Regions from separate parts of the Homo sapiens genome. Here region 2 is linked to region 1. The links are contacts of gene promoters, found by promoter capture Hi-C in human tissues and cell types (Jung and others, 2019). All regions are on one chromosome and are shown on one strand. The core of a region is centred on a gene start or on the middle of the fragment in contact, and the rest is flanking DNA. Distances in the headings are between cores, read along the strand shown.

Region 1 (7,390 bases), core at 3,635-6,134:
TTGGGCTACAGAGAGTGGTGATGGCGCCACTGCACTCCAGGCTGGGTGACAGGGCAAGAACCTGTCTCGGAAAACAAACAAACAACAAACAAACAAACAAAAAACAACCCGCAAGAGTTTAAATAAGTCTGAGAAGTGAAATGGGTTTAACCCATATAAAGAAAGTTTGAAATGGGTCTAACCCATATAAAGAATAGAAAGAACATTAAAGTAGTAGGTAGCGCAGGGGAGGAAAGAAAATGAGAAAACATTTGTTTTACCATTTACTTAGGCTGAACTCCTACCATGTAATTTTAAAGCATCATATGTATTGAGTTCCTGTCTTTTAAAAATAAAGTGCTCTAGATATTGCATATTATGTTAGTTATGTTATTAAGAGACACACTAGATTGAGAAATTTGATCACACTTATAATATGTGGTTGTACTTAGGTAACATTTACTGAGCGATGCCTATTAAGCAGTTGGCTAAGCCCTTTCCACATATTATGTCATTTAACTCTTTCCCTCATAATCAACTGAGGTATGTATTAGTATTCCCATTTCAGAGATGAGGAAACTGAGAGAGGTGAGAGAGAGGCTCAAATAATTTGAAACTCTTCAGCATTACTACCACTTTCAAGCAAATATACTGTACATTTATTTGTGTATGACTATGCAGGTATATCCATATTTAGCCCACCAGGGCTATTTTTCATTTTCCAACGAATTCATCATGACATTACTCATAAGCCACCTCAGTGCATTTGAGATCAATTTATAAAGTTTGATTGCTGCAAAATTTTTCAAAAACATGTTTACAGATTATTGAAACCCATATTGCCTACCATATGTTAGGCACTCTGCTAGGTGATAAAATGGAAGAATGCAAAATCACTCCTCCAAGGAGCTCAGATTCTTCTTTTGTAGGAAAGTCAATTATTCATTCCCTCATTCAAAAGTATTATTGAGTGTCTTGGAGCATGCTATAGTTTAGGTAAGAACAAATCAAGTTAGAATCATCATACTTGGTAAGAGGAGATGCACAAATAATGCCCTTTATCTTACATGGTCCTTTTAGGCAGTACTGTGATTAAGTGCTTGGACCTCTAGAGCCAGGCCACCTGACCTAAAAAGGTAGCTCTGTCAGTTAAAGGCTATGTGGTATTGAGCTAGTCACAGAGCCTCTTTAAAGCCTTCTGTTTCCCATCTATTAGATGAGGATAGTATCTCATAGGGCTGCTGTGAAGACTTAAGGTATGTGTAAAGTATTTGGAAGAGGACCTACGTAAGTATTAGTTGTTATTGTTGATACAGATTTACCATGTGCTGAAACAGTTGCCAATTCTCATAACAAGTAGCAAAGGATAGTAAGTGCTCTATTTTTTGTTGAATAGAACTTCCTAGAAGCCATGTGTTTCTCTGTAGATATGTCTAGAGTAGCCTCAGATTCCTTTTCCATCATATTTCTTAATTCTGAACCCAACATCAAATCAGTTATTGTCCTTTGCTGCCTCCGTTCTGTTTTTTTGTGGAAAAGGGGAAACTGATGGGCTGATTTTTTTGTTTCTGTTTTTACATCATAGATAATCAGAGTTATTTTTCATTACTTATCATTGGTAGACTTCTTACTAGTTTGATCCATGCTATAGTCTGAATATTGCGTCCCCCGCCCCTCCATTTTATATGTTGAAATCCTAACCCCTAAACTGATGGTATTAGGAGGTCATTCCTTTGGGAGGCGATTAGGTCATGATGGCAGAGCCTTCATGAATGGGATTAGTGGCCTTAAAAAGGAGGCCTGAGAGAGACCCTCACTCCTTCCACTATATGAAGACACAGCAAGAAGTCACCCTCTCTGAACTAGAAAGAAGACACACACACACACAGACGTGGAATCTGCTGTTGCCTTGAACTTCCTAGCCCCCAGACTATAGGAAATAAAAATTTTTTTTTTTTTTTTTTTGAGACAGAGCCTCACTCTGTCACCCAGGCTGGAGTGCACTGGCATGATCTTGGCTGATTGCAACCTCCACCTCCTGGGTTCAAGTGATTCTCCTGCCTCAGCCTCCCGAGTAGCTGGGATTACAGGTGCCTGCCACCACTCATAGCTAATTTTTTTATTTTTAGTAGAGACAGGGTTCCACCATGTTGGCCAGGCTGGTCTCGAACTCCTGACCTCAGGTGATCCTCCAGCCTAGGTCTCCCAAAGTGCTGGGATTACAGGCATAAGCCACCATGCCCAGCCAATTTCTGTTGCTTATAAGCCACCCAGCTTATGGTATTTTGTTATAATAGCCTGAATATACTCTAAAACAATCCTTTAAATTTTTAAAATTATTATTCTGATTATCAGAGTAATATGTGCTCAATATAAAAACAATTCAAACATACAGAACTTGATGAAAGGCCCTAGTAATCCCACACCCAGAGATAATCACCATTAACAGCTTGTTATATATGCTTCCAGACTTCTTCTGAAGCATACATTTAATAACATGTATATCTTAATGCAAAAAAGTACAAAAAAATGGAATCATACTATTCATATTGTTCTGCAGCCTCCTTTTTTTTCACTTATAGATTTTGGACATCCTTCCATGTAGGTACAAATAGATCTAGCTTATTTTTGTTAATGGCTGCTTATGGTTTCCTTCTACAGATCTAGCAAAATTTGCTTAAACAGTTTCCTACTGGGACTTTATTATTTGATTTTTACACCATTACATGTTCCCACTATTACAAACAATGTTGCAATAAGACACGTATATATATATTTTTGTACATGTGTAAATATTTCTGACATAATTTTTGCACAAATATGCTTAAAGCACAAACTCTTAGACATGGACTTACCTATTCAAAGGGAACACACCTATTTATCAAAAATTTCCAAATTGTCCTCCAAAGGGGTTTGTCCAATTTCCTCTTACTTTTACAGTGTGTGAGTGTCTATTTCTCCACATTTGACTGTTTTCTGAATATCACTTTTTTCTTTTCTCGATTTATACCAATCTTAAAATCATGTTTTTCAAGTCTAGAATCACAATTTAAAACCCAGGGAAGATCAAAAGAACAAAGTACAGAAGATTGGTTTTTTTGGTTTTTTGGTTTTGAGATGGAGTCTCACTCTGTCGCCCAGGCTGGAGTGTGGTGGCACCATCTCAGCTCACTGCAACCTCCGCCTCCCAGGTTCAAGCGATTCTCCTGCCTCAGGCTCCTGAGTAGCTTGGATTACAGGTGCGTGCCAACATGCCCAGATAATTTTTGTGTCTTTAGTAGAGACGGGTTTTCACCATGTTGGTCAGGCTGGTCTCTAACTCCTGACCTCGTGATCCTCTTGCCTCGGCCTCCCAAGGTACCGGGACTACAGGCGTGAGCCACTGCACCCGGCCTATAATTTTTTTTTTTTTTTACAAACAGCAAAACATTCCATATTCATTATAATAGTGGGCTGTTTTCAATAAAAATATCACACCACTAGTTGTTAAGTTTTAAAAGACCTCTCATCTCTTAGATCAGCAAATCTGACACTGATTAGATCACTTACACACACTCCCTGCCCATACACCTCCTTCTTGGCAGTGTGTGGAACAGGAGTGGCTGCTGGCAAGGAGGGTCGGGGAAGGAAAGTGAGAGCAAAAGGGCCGAGGGCTCAGAATCTGGTGGCATCTTGTAACGGGTCTCGGGCAGTCCCTTGAGTGTATTCTGGACCTCTCTGTTCATGTTCCTGTTTGGGCTGCTCTTCTTCACGTCCAATGCCTGAGGGCCAAGTGCTCACCATCCAAGGGTCAATTCTATCAGCTCCTCTCTGAATCCTTTTCTGAAACCCTGGACAATCATTCTCTTTAATGTCTCACTGTCTCTGAACCGACACCTTCCTGAGTACCTGTAACATTTGTGCAGCATGCTTATTAAGAATATTTAGATGCTGGGTAAACGTTGATTGAACATTTGCTGACATGGAGAGATATTGGTAGAAGACAGATTAGACTTCCGATGGTTTACAGAAACACATGGATTCAGATAAAAGAAGATATGAAAGCACTGGGTTGAACCACATATTTTATTACAACCAAATAACTCCAAATATCCCGCCTTAATTTATTTATTGGCCCCTGCCTCTGCTCACCCACAAAAAAGACTGCAAATGAACCCCGATCCTACAACAACAACAACAAAAAACGGTGACATTATCGGGCTGCAAAACCCTCTTAGCATAGAATAATCTTTTCATCTGCCTCTTTCAGATGTAACATATTTTTGACGAAAAGAATGGGATGAAAACGGCGGGCTCAGATAAAAACAAGAACCGACTTTCCAATACAGCTTCAATAACAGACGGAACACATGAAGCTGAGAAACTCTCCATGCCAAGTAGTAGTTGTGTGTGCCCCAAAGCTCAGATAAGTACTTCTCCTTAGAGTTGGAAGGCACTTAAGTGACTTTTTAACGTAATTCAACTCCCCACCCCCAGCGCCAAGTCTTAATATCAGAGTTTTAGTCGACGGGACAGCCTCCTTCGCCCAGGACGGGTGAAGGCTCCTGACCATGCCTCGCAGCTAACTGGCAGCTGCGCCTGCCCGGCACCGAGCCCTGCCCAGGTGGACGCTTGCGAGAGCATTACGGCGATGGTTATGTAGGCTGCCGTTCTTCCCCTCCCAAGCACCTGCTCCGCATCTAGCAGTCGCTCGCCGCCAGTCTCCAACCCCGGGTCCCCTCCCTCGCCACACAGACCCCGTCCGGTCAGGCGCTGCAGGGCCACCGGAGAAAGCGCTCGCAATCACATGGAGGCCCGGGCCCGCCCCATTGGCTGCGGCCGGGCCAGTCGCGGCACTCGCCGGCTGCGGTTGGTCCCAGAGCTGCAGCGCCTGCACGGGCCCGGAGTCCATGTTACGCTTTGTCTAATTCCCCTCGTTACAGAGTCATGTGCTGCTGCTCCCGTCGCCGCTGCTGCCGCTGCCGCTGCCGCCGCCCGTGGTGCCCCGGCTCCTCCGCCGCGCTTCGAGGTGGCAGCCGCGGGCGGGGCCGCGGGAGCAGGGTCCAGGGTGCAGCGCGCCTTCGCCGCCCCGGCGCGTCCCGGTGCAGCCGCCGCCCGCCGCGGGTGATGCCGCCACCTCCGGCCTCAGCATAAGCCGTGGCTTGGCGGCCGAGCTGCACCCCAAGGTTGGTGCGCACCTCTCCCGGCAGGGGCCGGGGGCTGCGAGGGAAGGCGACGCGCAGGTGGAGCCGCGCCGAGCCGGAGCGCGCAACCCTGGCGCAGGCGCCGCGGCCCGAGCTGCGGTTGCGGCCGGGAACTCATTCGGGGACGTCCGGGGGTCGGGAGGAGGTGGCGGCGAGCGGAGTGGGCTCCCGTTTGCTGCCGCCAGGGCCTGGGAGATTGTTCCGCTTTCTGCAGTCTGAGCGTCGGCCGCTTCGGCCCCGGGCGGCCGGCCCTGCGGGAGGGGAGTGCGGCTTCCTGGCTCCTGAACCCCTCGCGCGCGCTCCCTTCTCTCACCTCCCTCCGCCCTATCGGAAAGGCGGGGAGAGCCGGTTTCGGCTCTGCTGGTTCCTCCCGGAGGTGGGTGTTTGGTGTCTGGCCTTGCTGGCCCGGCGTCCAAAGGTGAGCCCTTTAACTTCTCCAGAATCGCCTCCCCTCCGCTTCCTTCCTGTGCAGGGTGGGCTGCGCTGGGAGCCCGGCGGGCGGGGGCGGGGAGGTGAAGGCCCGCGCCCCGCCCCCCGCGCCTGTGGGAGGGAGCTGGGGGCCCGCAGGTGCACCCAGCCGTCCGCGGGCCGTCTCCGGGTTGGGTACCGGTATAATCCGCTTCTAGCTTGTTTGGAGGCGTGGGCTCTTGGGAGCGGGACTTCTGCTCAAATCCTGTCCAGGGGCTTGAAAAGGAGGAGAATTGGGGGTGGTTGCCGGGAGGACCAGCACCTCCAGTTACTGGAGGGTTGATAGGGGCCTTCTCCTTTCCGTCACCCTTTACTAGGGGGTATCCCTTGCAGATAAATGAGATTTTTTGATTTCTTAAAAAGCCAGCTGCAGTGAAGAAGAACTGCTGCAGGTCGAGGGGAAGAGAGGTAGGTCCTTGCTGGAGAGGGAGAGGTGGGCTGTGAGGTTCCAGGAGCACGCACTTGGGGTGTGTGTGGCCGAAAGTATGGAGGTAGGGTTGTGGGAAGGAAACAGCCGAGATGAGAGGGAGGGCGCACTCAGGATGTAGGCGGAGAGATGGGGAATAGGTACTGGGGAGTCCTAGCGGAATGTGGGGCCCAGCTGGAGCCGCTTGGCTTATATTTGGCTCCTCGTTGCCTCGCAGATTTCCTGCTCTTGGATCTTCAAAAATATTTTTTTGTTGGACAAAGAAAACTCTGAGGACATATTTTGGAAGAGCTGATTTCTGGAAACTTTCCTTGGCAGCTTTGATAGTAAAATTCCGTACAGGCAGCGTTTATTGAGCACCTATTACGTGGTTTGTACCGGACTTTGGAAGAGTCTGGACAGGCAGGGAATCCCCGTTTGCAGTAATGATGAGGGCTGTCTACCTTATAAACAAATAAGGGGCCCCTCCCAGTGCCAAGAATGAGAGTGATCAGACCTTCCTCGCCATAGCATCTGGGACCTCTGCTTCTTACAGACCTGTGGGAAGAACCCTGCACCATATCCTGTAAATGGGGTCCTCAGGCAGCATTTATTTTTGCAGTCCAAAAATAGTGACCAAACACCTACTGTCAGCTAGGCGAGAGTTGGGGTTCTTGCTTCATCTGTCTTGACACCAACTAACTAAATCCCTGTTAAAATCCAAGTGCAAGATGGGGAGGAATCTGAGATGAAAATTAGGTGGTTAAAACAGGGGTCACGAAAAGTTGATTTGGGGTGTTTGGTCTCTGTAGGTTACTTATGGAGCCCCCCATAAAATGATTAGGTAATCTATGGAGCCAGGGAAAAATTCCAAAATCTTGAATTGGCACAGTTTATTTATATATTTGAACACTATGTTAGATTTGTCTCGTTTTTATTGAGAGTGTATGTGTGCGTGTTGATTAAAACCTAACAGATTAGAAGGTTGGAGAGGAAACTGTCCTTAGATGACCCAGCCTTCCATTACCATGTGGAGTAGCATATGATGCAACACTTAAAGTATTGAGCCATATTCATATCATTTTCTCCCTGCTGTGTTTTCCAGCATTTAAAAAACATGGTCAAAACTTGGCCCTTTTTTTCTCAAAATCGCTAAAGTTTAATGGAAAGAAAAAAGAAAAAAACTAGGCCCCTTTTCCCTTAATTTTTATATTATGCAGCATTTTTAAAAATTAATTTTAGAAAATTCTGATGTGTTTGTCATGTCCAAATAGTTAAATTGTTTTGGTAGCTATAGTTTGGAAATTAGACTCGATTCTGTTCTCAGTACTGTAGACAAAATAGCTATTAAAGT
Region 2 (7,390 bases), core at 1,618-4,117, 160 kb before region 1:
GGCACTGAAGTCTATCCATGGACATCCAGGCTCTGGACTCCTCTGGTAGCCTTTTGTATTCCTTTGCTTGTCTCAATTTACATAGTGTTTCTTTTTGTTTTGTTTTGTTTTCCAAGTTTCAGTTATTTACTAATCAGTGCAATCGCCAATAGATTACATCAACATGATTTCATGCATTTAGAGGAGAAGTATTTCCTGGTTAAGCGGAAAATTGTGTGGATGGCTTCTGGAAGACCTTCATTCTAAAGCAGCTTTATAGTGAAACATTTGTTAGAAATCTGGACCTTCTTTCTTCAGTTTGCTGTAATCCACAATTACTGAGTAGAACTTGTATTGATCATTGGGAGCCAGTTTGTTCCAGGGCTCTGGATTATTCTTTCTGTCCCAACTAACATCTGGATTGAACAATGCCAGACACGAGATACAGTGCTGCTCCAGTACCTCCAGCTCCAATGAATACAAAGAGGGAGATCAAGCTTAGATGCTTCTTGGACTGAGTGATGATGTGGTGGAGCATGTTTGCTGAAGAGGCCTCCGATTGGAAAGGAGAGAACCAGCCTAGCCACCAGGCTCTGGCCTAAGTAGTATCTCCATAGTGTTTCTTGATAGGTTCTGTTTCTACCACTTTACTCTTCTAATTAACAGATATCTGGTGAATGACAAATATGGGCCAGACACTCTTCTGGGCATTAGGGACAAAACATTTTGCAAATTGGGCAAAAATTTCTGCCCTCCTGGGACTTGCATTCAAGTGGGAGGAGAGAGAAAAGGAAATGCATAATTAGCTAAAATATATATAGTATGTTCAAAGGTGTTAAGTGCTATGGAGAAAAATAAGGCAGGGCAGGAGGAAAGGGAGTGCTATGGCTGAGATATGGTGTGATATTAAATTGGCTTTGCAGTATTATCTAAACAAGAGGAGGGTGAAGGCTTGGACCAGAGGAGTAGTGATAGAAATGGTGAAAAGTGGTTGCAATCTGGGTAAATTTCAGCAAGGCCTAAAGAAGGTGAAGGATTGAGCCCTGCAGATACCAGGAAGATGAGAATTCCAGACAGAGCTGTTGCAAATGCAAAAGCAGGAGTGAACCTGGGGTGCCAAGAAACCACTCTAACAGGGGCATCCGATCTTTTGGCCTCCCTGGGACACACTTGAAGAAGAAGAATTGTCTTGGGCCACACATAAAATACATTAATGATAGCTGATGAGCTAAAAGAAAAAAAATCACAAAATCTCATAATGTTTTAGGAAAGGAAAGCTTGCAAATTTCTGTTGGGTCATATTCAAAGCCATCCTGGGCCACAAGTGGTCTGCAGGCCACAGATTGGACAAGCTTGTGCTAGAAGGCCCAGTGTGGCTGGAGCAAAGCGAGTGTGCAGGAGAGGGCTATGAGACTGGTGTGGGGTGGGAGTGAGATTGCAGAGGGCCTTTTAGGACTTTTGTAAAGATTTTCGCTTTTTCACAGAGTGAGATGGAGAATTATTAGAGGATTTTGAATGGAGAAGAAACCCAGGATCATTCTGGTTGCTCACTTGAGATGACTCTCTAGGGGTCATTGGTAGAAGTGGAGAGACTAATCAGGAAGATATTGCAATAATCTTGCAATAATCTAATTGAGAGATGATGGTGGCTTGGATCGGGGTAGCAGCTAAGATGGGTCAGAAATCGTTGGAATCTGAATATATTTTTGTAGGTAAAACTTTTTGCCCTTATGTCTATGTAATATTTTTTGATATTCCTCTTAAAATAGAGCCCTAAACTCCAGTAAGGGACCTGAATAATGCTAGTTATAGCAAAAGGTTAACTGTCTGACTCTTGAATACCACAAATTTAGTATTGTGTTTTCAGCCCCCGCCATGGGGTAGATATTATTTTCCTATGTTTCTTTTTTTTAATTATTATACTTTAAGTTCTGGGATACGTGTGCAGAACCTGCAGGTTTGTTACATAGGTATACACGTGCCATGGTGCTTTGCTGTGCCCATCAACCCGTCGTCTACATTGGGTATTTCTCCTAATGCTATCCCTTCCCCAGCCTCCCATCCCCTGACAGGTCCCAGTGTGTGATGTTCCCCTCCCTGTGTCCATGTGTTCTCATTGTTCAACTCCCACTTATGAGTGAGAACATGCAGTGTTTGGTTTTCTGTTCTTGTGTTAGTTTGCTGAGAATTATGGTTTCTAGCTTCATCCATGTCCCTGCAAAGGACATGAACTCAGCCTTTTTTATGGCTACATAGTATTCCATGGTGTATATGTGCCACATTTTCTTTATCCAGTCTATCATTGATGGGCATTTGGGTTGGTTCTAAGTCTTTGCTATTGTGAAGAGTGCTGCAATAAACACACATGTGGCCGGACGCGGTGGCTCATGCCTGTAATCCCAGCACTTTGGGAGGCAGAGGCGGGCGGATCATGAGGTCAGGAGATCGAGACCATCCTGGCTAACACAGTGAAACCCCACCTCTACTAAAAATACAAAAAATTAGCCGGGCTTGGTGGCCAGCACCTGTAGTCCTAGCTACTCGGGAGGCTGAGGCAGGAGAATGGTGTGAACCCGGGAGGCAGAGCTTGCAGTGAGCCGAGATTGCGCCACTGCACTCCAGCCTGGGCGACAGAGCGAGACTCTGTCTCAAAAAAAAAAAAAAAAATACATGTGCATGTGTCTTTATAGTAGAATGATTTATAATCCTTTGGGCATAGACCCAGTAATGGGATTGCTGGGTCAAATGGTGTTTCCAGTTCCAGATCCTTGAGGAATTGTCACACTGTCTTCCACAATGGTTGAACTAATTTACACTCCCACCAACAGTGTAAAAGCGTTCCTGTTTCTCCACATCCTCTCCAGCATCTGTTGTTTCCTGACTTTTAATGATCGCCATTCTAACTGGTGTGAGATGGTATCTCATTGTGGTTTTTATTTGCATTTCTCTGATGACCAGTGATGATGAGCTTTTTTTCATGTTTGTTGGCTGCATAAATGTCTTCGTTTAAGAAGTGTCTGTTCATATCCTCTGCCCACTTTTTGATGGTGTTGATTTTTTTCTTGTAAACTTGTTTAAGTTCTTTGTAGATTCTGGATATTAGCCCTTTGTCAGATGAATAGATTGCAAAAAATTTCTCCCATTCTGTAGGTTGCCTGTTCACCCTGATAACAGTTTTGTTTGTTTGTTTGTTTGTTTTTTGCTGTGCAAAAGCTCTTTAGTTTAATTATATCCCATTTGTCAATTTTGGCTTTTGTTGCCATTGCTTTTGGTGTTTTAGTCATGAAGTCTTTGCCCATGCCTATGTCCTGAATGGTATTGTCTAGATTTTCTTCTAGGGTTTTTATGGTTTTATGTCTTACAGTTAAGTCTTTAATCTATCTTGAGTTAATTTTTGTATAATGTGTAAGGAAGGGGTGCAGTTTCAGTTTTCTGCATACGGCTAGCCAGTTTTCCCAACATCATTTACTAAATAGGGAACCCTTTCCCCATTTCTTATTTTTGTCAGGTTTGTCAAAGATCAGATGGTTGTAGAGGTGTGGTGGTATTTCTGAGGCCTCTATTCTGTTCCATTGGTCTATATTTGTGTTTTGGTACCAGTACCATGCTGTTTTGATTACTGTAGCCTTGTAGTATAGTTTGAAGTCAGGTAGTGTGATGCCTCCAGCTTTGTTCTTTTTGCTAAGGATTGTCTTGGCTATGTGAGCTCTTTTTTGGTTCCATATGAAATTTAAAGCAGTTTTTTCTAATTACGTGAAGAAAGTCAATGGTAGCTTGACAGTGATAGCATTGAATCTATAAAATTACTTTGGGCAGTATGGCCATTTTCACGATATTGATTCTTTCTATCCATGAGCATGGAATGTTTTTCCATTTGTTTGTGTTCTCTCTTATTTCCTTGAGCAGTGGTTTGTAGTTCTCCTTGAAGAGATCCTTCACATCCCTTGCAAGTTGTGTTCCTAGGTATTTTATTCTCTTTGTAGTAATTGTGAATGGGATTTCACTCATGATTTGGCTGTTTGTCTATTATTGCTGTATAGGAATGCTTGTGATTTTTACACATTGATTTTGTATCCTGAGACTTTGCTGAAGTTGCTTATCAGCTTAAGGAGATGATGATGGGGTTTTCTAAATATACAATCATGTCATCTGCAAACAGAGACAATTTGACTTCCTCTCTTCCTATTTGAATATCCTTTATTTCTTTCTCTTGCCTGATTGCCCTGGCCAGAACTTCCGATACTACGTTGAATAGGAGTGGTGAGAGAGGGTATCCTTGTCTTGTGCCAGTTTTCAAAGGGAATGCTTCCAGCTTTTGCCCGTTCATTATGATATTGGCTGTGGGTTTGTCATAAATAGCTCTTATTATTTTGAGATACATTCCATTAATACCTAGTTTATTGAGAGTTTTTAGCATGAAAGGGTGTTGAATTTTGTTGAAGGCCTTTTCTGCATCTATTGAGATAATCATGTGGTTTTTGTCATTGGTTCTGTTTATGTGATGGATTATGTTTATTGATTTGTGTATGTGTAGGCCTAGGTTAATATACATGTTGGCGTCTTCGTTTTTAGTTAAAAAATTTAAAAAGCAAAATATAATAATTTAATAGCAAAAAACTTATTGAATAAGGAATAAAATATATTTTTGCGCAGCTATAAAATGTGTTTGTGTTTTAAGCCAAATGTTATTATGAAAGCATCAAAAAGTTATAAAGAATGTTTAAAGTTTAAAAAGCAAAAAAGTTGCAGTAACCTACAGCTTATTGTTGAAGAAAGAAAAATTTTTTTTATAAATTTAGTGTAGCCTAGGTGTACAGTGTTTATTATAAAGTCTACGGCAGTGCAAAGTAACATCCTAGGCCCTCACATTCACTCATCACTCACTTGCTGACCCATCCAGAGCAACTTCCAGTCCTGCAAACTCCATTCATGGTAAGTACCCTATACAGGTGTACTATTTTTAATCTTTTATACATTTTTATTTTACCTTTCCTATGTTTCGATACACAAATACTTACTATTATGTTGCAGTTACCTACAGGATTCAGTACAGGAAAATGCTGTACAGATTTATAGCCTAGGAGCAAGAGGCCAAACCCTATAGCCAAAGTGCGTAGTAGGCTATACCGTCTAGGATTGTATAAGTACACTCTATGACATCCACACGACAAAATTGCCTAATGATGCGTTTCTCAGAACGTATCCCCATTATTAAGCAACATATGACTGCATTTTGACCCAAATGATCAATGATTGCTATTGCACTGCTGTTGCTTAATAAACATGTACATTCCCTTCTTGCAGTCTTTACCTTATTCCATGGTAGGTCCCTGGAAGTTGACAGAGGCCGGCAATGTGAGTAGAGGAAAAAACATGATACTGTTAATAATATAAAGGAGACGAGTTAACGGGTGCAGCACACCAACATGGCACACGTATACATATGTAACAAACCTGCACCTTGTGCACATGTACACTAGAACTTTAACAAAAATATATATATATAAAGAAGCCCATGATTCAAAACAAATGAGGCCCAGGACAGTTCTTGTCCCACTCCTCTCCTTTGTTCCTTCTCCCAACTCTCTAAATAAGATAGAATTGTCCTTTTCCAGCTCCATGCAGATCTCTCAGGTGGCCTCTTTGACTTCTTTGCTTCCTCTTTGCCCCTAAACAGGGTGCAGGTATCATGAGAAAATGCAGAGTAGTACAAAAGAAATCTGGTGTTCTCTTCCCCAAAACCAAGTGCACCTTACTCTAATTTCTGTTAGTCACATAAACATTTCTGTTATTCATTTTAATAACTGGAAGAATTTCAGGTTAAGTAGATGCTCATTTCTCATTTCATTGGTTCAGCAATTACTTATTGAGTACCTTTTATGTGCCAGATACTGTTCTAGGCTCTGGGAGACAGGAGTGAACAAAACAAAGTCCCCATTTCTTAGGGAGCTTACCTTATGATGCAGCAGAGAGATAGAAGTATAACTAAATGAGTAATACCCGTATAGTACATCTGATAAAGATAATGCTATTGAGGAAAGCAACTTAGGGAATGAAAAAGGGAGTGCTGGGATGGCATGCTCTTGCTTTTGGTGAGTTGGTATTAATATTTTCAATAGGGTAGCCAGAAAAGGTGTCTCCAATAATGATATATGTGCAGAGACCTGAAGGAAGTGAGAAAACAATATTCATGCCAATATCTGGTGGCAGAATGCTCCTTGCTGCAGGAAGTCCTTAGACCGTTTTCTCCTCTCTATATGCTGCCTAGGTGGTTTCATCCTATCACTTTTTATAACCCTAATGACTCCCAAACTTCTATCTCTATCCCAGATCTTTCCTATCTCTAGTCCAGTGTATCCAGCTGTTTGTGGAGCCCCTCCACTTGGGTGTCTAGTAGACATCTCAGATTTCAGATGTCTCTATCCAAACTCCTTATTCCCCACTCCCTAAACCTACTTTCTGTAGCCTCTCACTCCCTTTATAAAATGGCAACTCCATTATTTCAGCTTCTCAACTTAAAAATATTGGACTCATAATGATTCTTCTCTCTCAAACCTCACACCCAATCCATCAGCTAGAGCACGAGTTACTTATATTGGGAAAAACTAAAAAAGGAGTAAACCTAGGGCAGTGGGAGGAAGAAATTAAGGTAAAATACAAAGCAGAGCAGTAATAGAGCTACTTTCTGGGCAGTGTTTGATGGGATGAGGAAAATCTAAGCTGAAGGCATTTGAGCCTTGGAACTCAGGTTGCTGGGAAATCACATCCTAAGCCACATTCCCTTAAAAGAGCTAAAACTTTAAAGTGGTTTGCTATGTTTTGATATGTCTTAACATCAAGAGTGAGTTAGTTGGCAAAACTCAAGCTGTCAACCCATGGGTTAGAAAGAGACTTTAGGTACCCGTGAGAATGTTTTACATAAAGTTTACCTAAAGTATTTTCCATTTCCTGCTTCTGGAAACATTGTGGGACCTGAATGGAGAAGCCAGAAGTGCAAAGTCATAATAATAATTTTAAAAAACAGTGAGCATTTGAACCAGTCTTAGAAAAATGAATGTTCTTTGTTGGCATATCTACAATAAAGCAAAACACTTAGCTGAAACATCAGGGAAAGGAAATGATAAATGTCATGGGGTAAAAGATGGTTAAATACTTAAGTATCTTGATTATATTAATTTGAACCATGAAAAGGAAGTAAGTACTCACTGTCCTTCTGTTTTGATTTGGTATACATTTCCCAGCATTCAAATTCTCAGCACAGAAGGTTCTTGCTGTTTTGCTGCACCAAGTTCTTGGAAATCACATACAGATCCCCCTAAAGGAGATTGGAACAGTGCAATATTTGGGGACTGCATTCTCCACCCAAGGATTTAGCATCAAATGAAAAACAGGTATAACCAAGAGCATAACA

The links. Contacts are between HindIII fragments. The study calls those that stand out against the background at their distance.
Region 2: a contact is called between a fragment that was not itself captured here and the fragment with the promoter of LRRC8D in region 1, in 1 of the 25 tissues and cell types used here (hippocampus).

Annotation. Positions count from the first base shown.
Region 1 is chr1:89,816,148-89,823,537 of GRCh38, forward strand. LRRC8D (leucine rich repeat containing 8 VRAC subunit D) reads left to right here and starts at 4,885. Exons shown (of 3, transcript NM_001134479.2): 1 at 4,885-5,144. It overlaps LRRC8D-DT (LRRC8D divergent transcript), which reads right to left and starts at 5,647. Exons shown (of 1, transcript NR_185885.1): 1 at 4,027-5,647. RefSeq lists silencers at 4,414-4,473, 4,914-5,263, 5,364-5,463, 5,554-5,763, 5,635-5,854. The HindIII fragment of the contact is 15,684 bases long and covers 1-7,390 here.
Region 2 is chr1:89,660,941-89,668,330 of GRCh38, forward strand. All of the region lies in intron 1 of LRRC8C (leucine rich repeat containing 8 VRAC subunit C), which reads left to right. It also overlaps the pseudogene LOC100505788. Among named protein-coding and RNA genes, the nearest start is that of LRRC8C, 32 kb to the left of the region's middle. The HindIII fragment of the contact is 4,002 bases long and covers 867-4,868 here.